Linked DNA regions of Homo sapiens: region 2 is linked to region 1. The links are contacts of gene promoters, found by promoter capture Hi-C in human tissues and cell types (Jung and others, 2019). All regions are on one chromosome and are shown on one strand. Each heading gives the region's core, a stretch centred on a gene start or on the middle of the fragment in contact. The rest is flanking DNA. Distances are from core to core; before and after follow the strand shown. Region 1 holds the start of CDC25A (cell division cycle 25A). Region 2 overlaps SPINK8 (serine peptidase inhibitor Kazal type 8 (putative)).

Region 1 (2,775 bases), core at 92-2,591:
TCGGGATGAAAGTTGAACAGGACACTTTCTGCTTTTCAGAAGTTGGGAAACGCACAAGACATGTGCTTAGCAAACGGGATGCCAGAGATTGAAGGGAAAGTAGCTCTTCCGCGGGAAACACCGTGGGATGCATTTTTTGCTATCAGGAAAAGCCCAGGAAGCTTTCTGAAAGTTGGGTAAAAAGACCTGGCCTTAGGAAAGCAGCAGAGTGGACATCAGGAATGTGCACAGGGCGAGGGACTGAGATGATTTTACATAAACGCCAGGAAAGAAAATGCCATGGTCCTTTGTTGAGAAGGAACAAAGATCACAGCAAACGAAGATCCTGAGGATGGTTTAGCAAAGGGTGAAAGTGAGTGCCTAGAAGAGCCTGATTTTCCCCGCGGGGGTAGATTCCAAAGAGCTTCCAGGGATAGAGATAGAAGGAGAGTACGGAGCAATCCGAAAGGGGTGAAGGTGGGCCTGGCTCGGGCTTAGGCCCAAGGATCTCCACCTCTTCCCCTGGAAGGTCCCGACGGCCTCTCCCGCCCAACATTCCGCCCGGGCGGGGGTGCACATGGCAGGCCCTAGCCCGGCTGTCCCCGAGCGGCGAACCCGGACGGACGGGTCTCGCCCTTCTCCCGGTCCGTTTCCTGGCCTGATCTCTCCGAGGCCGACACCGAGGCCAGGGGCCCGGAGCACCGCCCGCCGGTCTCTCCTTACCTGCCCAGACCCTGCAGCTGGTCCATAGTGACGGTCAGGTTGGTGACAGGCGACAGTCCCCCGGCGGCTGAAGCGCCAAATAGCGCCTTCACGACGGGCTGCGACGCGGGAGGGGGGCTGCAGGCGAAGAGCAGGCGGCGGCGGTGCGGGGGCTCCGGGCCCAGTTCCATGGCGGCGCCCGGCCTCGCAGAGCTCCCGCTCCCTCTTCCTCTGCCTCCGCCGCGACCGCCCCGCCCCGCCGACACCGGCCTCGGCCGCGCGCCACCGGCGCCCGCGGGTCAAACACAAACACGACTCCGCGGTTCAGGGACGCGGCTGCCGCGGGCAAGCGGCGCGGCCGGGCGGGTGTGCGGACCCTCCAGGCGCCAGCCACCAGCCACAGGCACGGGTGCTTCCCTCTCACACCGCGAGGCCAGCGGGCGGGCGGGCGCCGGCAACCTGAAGATTAAATCCAAACAAACGTGGCGGGTCGGCAAGAGAAGCCGGGCGAGAGCCTCGAGGCAACGGCCCAGGCTCACGCTGTCTTCGCTGTTCTCCCACCCGCTTGCCCAGCTCCGGGTAGCAGAAAACCAAGCCGACCTACACCTCTTACCCAGGCTGTCGCAGCCAGGCCGGCCTTTCGCGGTAATAGCGGCTCAGTGGGGCCAGCTGCTGCCCCGCCCCCCTTTCCTAGTTGGCGCCAAACGGAATCCACCAATCAGTAAGCAACTTCTCCTCCTCTCAACCGAATGGCAGCTAGGCTGGGCCAATGAGAGGGGAAGAAGAAAGCGGCTCGCGGGACTCTGCCAGGTCATCGGCTCTCAGAAGGGGGCGGAGCCCAGAGCAGAAGAGCGGGGATCAAAATGAGAGGGGGAGCAGAGGTCAATGAAAACTCCCAGCAGAACCTGCGAGGCGCTGCTCGCGGCTGAAAGGCCCCTTTGCCCCGTCGCATGCTGGGAAGCGTAGTTCCCATCGCGAGCTGCCGTCCAGTTAGCTTCGGCCCCCTTTGGGCCTCCGCTACCTCGCCCCCAGCCGGGCGCCCCACACTCTGAGGCAATGTGGAGGCTAAGGAAGACCTGTGGAGGTCTGGCCGGATCCAGCCTTGGCTCGGCCTCTAACCGTGCAGTATTGTGGACCCCTTTCTTCCGCCCCGGGCCTCCAGGCCCCATTTTATAATGAGGGAGGGAATGCAATGACCCCCAGGACTGGACTCGACCACCAGGGCCCAACTCTGGAGGGCTCACAGACCCTGGGTGCTGCTGGCCTCATGGGATTTGAACCCCGCAGTACAACCTGTGCTGTGGGCCTCAGCATTTTTTGCTCACTTCCATTCTAGCCCTTATTGGATGCTCTTAGAATCATTTCTTTCTTTCCCACCACTTCTTAGCCCCCTGGGAGCTCCTAGAGAGAAATAACAGCAAACACAATAATAGCAAATAATAGCTAAAGTTTACATAATGCTTATGCACTTGACACTGTTCCCAGTGTGTTAATCTGTATTAATTCATTTAATCTTTACAACTCTGTGACATAGGAATTATCCCCATTTTCTAAGTGGGCATATTTACTTTTACAGCGCCGAACCTGTGGCAGCTCCTAGACGGATTTTGAGGGCCATAAGTGCATGATTTAATTGCAACCTACTGCTGGGCTTAGTGGCTCACGCCTATCATCCCAGCACTTTGGGAGGGCGAGGTGGGAGGATTGCCTGAGCCCACGAATTTGAGACCAGCCTGGGCAACAAAGTGAGACACCCCCTGCCCCCCACTCAAAAAAAAAAAACCCTACAGTTTGAAAAGCCATGCTGGACAGGTGGAAACCCCAAACCTTTGGCCCCAACACCAGACCCTTCACAGTGAGGAACCTCTCTCTCAGGATTCATCTCCTTTTCTGTGCACCAGTGCTCCACCACCCAGGAACCTCCCTTCCCTCCAGAAACCCCAGGCTATTTAGGCCTCTCTGCACAGTTCACATGGTCTGTGGTCCCACTGTTTCAAATAGTTCTCCCTGTCGTATCTCTGAATACTTTCCTCTCCTCCTGTGTTTTATGTGGTTTAATACTTGGCTCAACAGGCCGGGAGCGGTGGCTCACGC
Region 2 (2,700 bases), core at 198-2,697, 130 kb after region 1:
GCTCCACCTCTCAGGTTCATGCCATTCTCCTGCCTGAGCCTCCTGAGTAGCTGGGACTACAGGCACCCGCCACCACGTCTGGCTAATTTTTTGTATTTTTAGTAGAGATGGGGTTTCACCATGTTAGCCAGGATGGTCTCTATCTCCTGACCTCCTGATCTGCCCGTCTCAAAAGAACTTTGCTCTGTTGCCCAGGCTAGAGTGCAGTGGCACGATCATGGCTCACTGCAGCCTTGAACTCCTGGGCTCAAGCAATCATCCTGACTTCCAAGTAGCTAGGACTACAGGCAGGTGCCACCATGCCTGGCTAATTTTTTAATTTTTTTTTGTAGAGTCAGGGTCTCGCTATGTTGCTCATGTCTCAAATCCCTAGGCTCAAGCAATCCTTCTGCCTCAGCTTCCCAAAGTGTTGGGATTACAGGCTTGAGCCACCCCTCCAGGCAAAAATATTTTTTAAAATTTTTGTAATTAAGTTGGTATTAATCCAAATTAGATTGGTATAAATTAGAATTTAACTTGTAATATCCAGTGCAACTGCTAAGAGAATAATTTCTTTTTTTTTGAGACGGAGTCTTGCTTTATCTCCCAGGCTGGAGTGCAGTGATGCAATCTCAGCTCACTGCAACCTCCGCCTCCTGGGTTCGAGGGATTCTTCTGCCTCATCCTCCTGAGTAGCTGGGATTACAGGCATGCACCACCACACCCGGCTAATTTTTGTATTTTTAGTAGAGACGGGATTTCATCATATTGGCCAGGCTGGTCTCGAACTCCTGACCTCAGGTGATCCGCCCACCTCGGCCTCCCAAAGTGCTGGGATTACAGGCGTGAGCCACTGCGCCCAGCTAGAATAATTTCTAAGATACACTGAAAGGGAGCTCTTTAGAGGCCATCTCTCAGATGTCTCCTGGTTCCAGCATCGTTTGACTCTGTCATGCTGCGCATTCCCCAGATGATGCTTTCTGATTGTCAGGTGTCAGCGTCTGTGCCAGTGATTGAGGCTGACACCAAAGTTGTTTACCTTACAACTCTCGTATGGGTTCTAGTGTAAGCTTTAGTGTTTATTCAGCCAAGAATACAAGAAAGTCCGATCCTGCCCAGCCAAATATCTCTCATCCTGATCAAGAAGATTCTTATTCCTTCTCTGGAGGAGAAGCTAAGAAGAGGAAGGGGAGAGAGACTTAATTCTGATCTACTCTTGTGTTTTTGCTTTTCTCTCTTAAGATAGCACTCAACTTGTAAGCCTTAGTTAGACAAGGGTGTGGCTTTTCTCCTTAAAGGAGAAGGCAGATGTCAGAGAATCCTCCTAACTGTATACGGAGTTTCCTTCATACAAACCCCTGCTCCTCACTATTCCCCTTGGGCTAAACAATTGGGCGTTTCACTTGTGTGTTACTCAAAGCTTCTAACATGTGATGGGTGCAGAGACTAAACCACATACTAAGTTGAAAGCAAAAGAAAGTTGTTTTGGAAAATAATATCCATTTTAGGACCAATAAACTATTAGCTGGGAAGATTCTTCACCCAGCTTCCTCTTCCTCTTCTTTTTGTTCTTTGTTTCTGTTCTTTGGCCTGAGGGGGCATGAGGATGACCTTCATGTAGGGTCACATGATCTACATGCTATGGCTGCTTGTTTCTGAGTGCCTCCACTTGAGGCTTGTCCAGGTCACACACAGTGCCCTCACCTTAGTGGATTTCTGTTTCTGCATTGTCTGAATAGGATCACATGTACCTTTTGAGGTCACAGAAAGGAATGGAAGAAAGGGAGGAACAAATACTGGAGGAATGTCTGGAGAGAAGGTCTCATTGGATGATGTAGGAAGTGGGCTGAGGTCATCACCCTCTTTTGACCACTCTTAACCTCTTGACTTGAAAGAAAGGGAGAACAAAATTAGGACTTACAGAATTTTGGAGCACAGATGGCAGTCACTACTGTAGGTAACCTGGTCACTGCCACAAATAGGTTCACTGGGCTTGATGTAGGATAAAAACCAGCACTTATTTACATTCTTGAGGCATTCAACCTGAAGGTGAGACACACACAACTGCTTCAGACACTTTCATCCAGGTCCTTTGGCCGTTATTATGTATAGCTTGGGAGGTGGATGGAATACGAGCACCAGATCAGGAGTTCAGAGAAAAGGATTCAGAAGCCTCAGTGTTTGACCCCAACAGTTACCACCCACAATATGTATATAATTGCAAAATAATATATAATCTGTGCACTCTCCAGACTCCCATAAATTCTTTATTAAGATAAAAATACCGGCCGGGCGCGGTGGCTCATGCCTGTAATCCCAGCACTTTGGGAGTCCGAGGTGGGTGGATCACGAGGTCAGGAGATCGAGACCACGGTAAACCCCATCTCTACTAAAAATACAAAAAATTAGCCGGGCGTGGTGGTGGGCGCCTGTAGTCCCAGCTGCTGGGGAGGCTGAGGCAGGAGAATGATGTGAACCTGGGAGGCGGAGCTTGCAGTGAGCCGAGATCGCGCCACTGCACTCCAGCCTGGGCGACAGAGCAAGACTCCGTCTCCAAAAAAAAAAAAAGATAAAAATCCCTGCCCTCTGTAACCTAACAATCATATTTTTGTACCAACCCCAAAATGTGATTGGTAGGTTACAGAGAGCAGAAGTAGGGAAATGTCTTTCCAGGTTAAAATTTCTGATGAAGGGCCAGGCATGGCGGCTCACGCCTGCACT

What was found. Contacts are between HindIII fragments. The study calls those that stand out against the background at their distance.
Region 2: a fragment that was not itself captured here is called in contact with the fragment with the promoter of CDC25A in region 1 in 1 of the 25 tissues and cell types used here (IMR-90 fibroblasts).

What each region holds. Positions count from the first base shown.
Region 1 is chr3:48,187,076-48,189,850 of GRCh38, forward strand. CDC25A (cell division cycle 25A) reads right to left here and starts at 1,342. Exons shown (of 15, transcript NM_001789.3): 1 at 703-1,342. The coding sequence starts at 872. RefSeq lists an enhancer at 427-1,055 and a silencer at 799-1,008. The HindIII fragment of the contact is 16,525 bases long and covers 1-2,775 here.
Region 2 is chr3:48,317,597-48,320,296 of GRCh38, forward strand. SPINK8 (serine peptidase inhibitor Kazal type 8 (putative)) reads right to left here. Exons shown (of 8, transcript NM_001080525.3): 6 at 1,901-2,022. Among named protein-coding and RNA genes, the nearest start is that of MIR2115, 2.5 kb to the left of the region's middle. The HindIII fragment of the contact is 4,808 bases long and covers 1-2,700 here.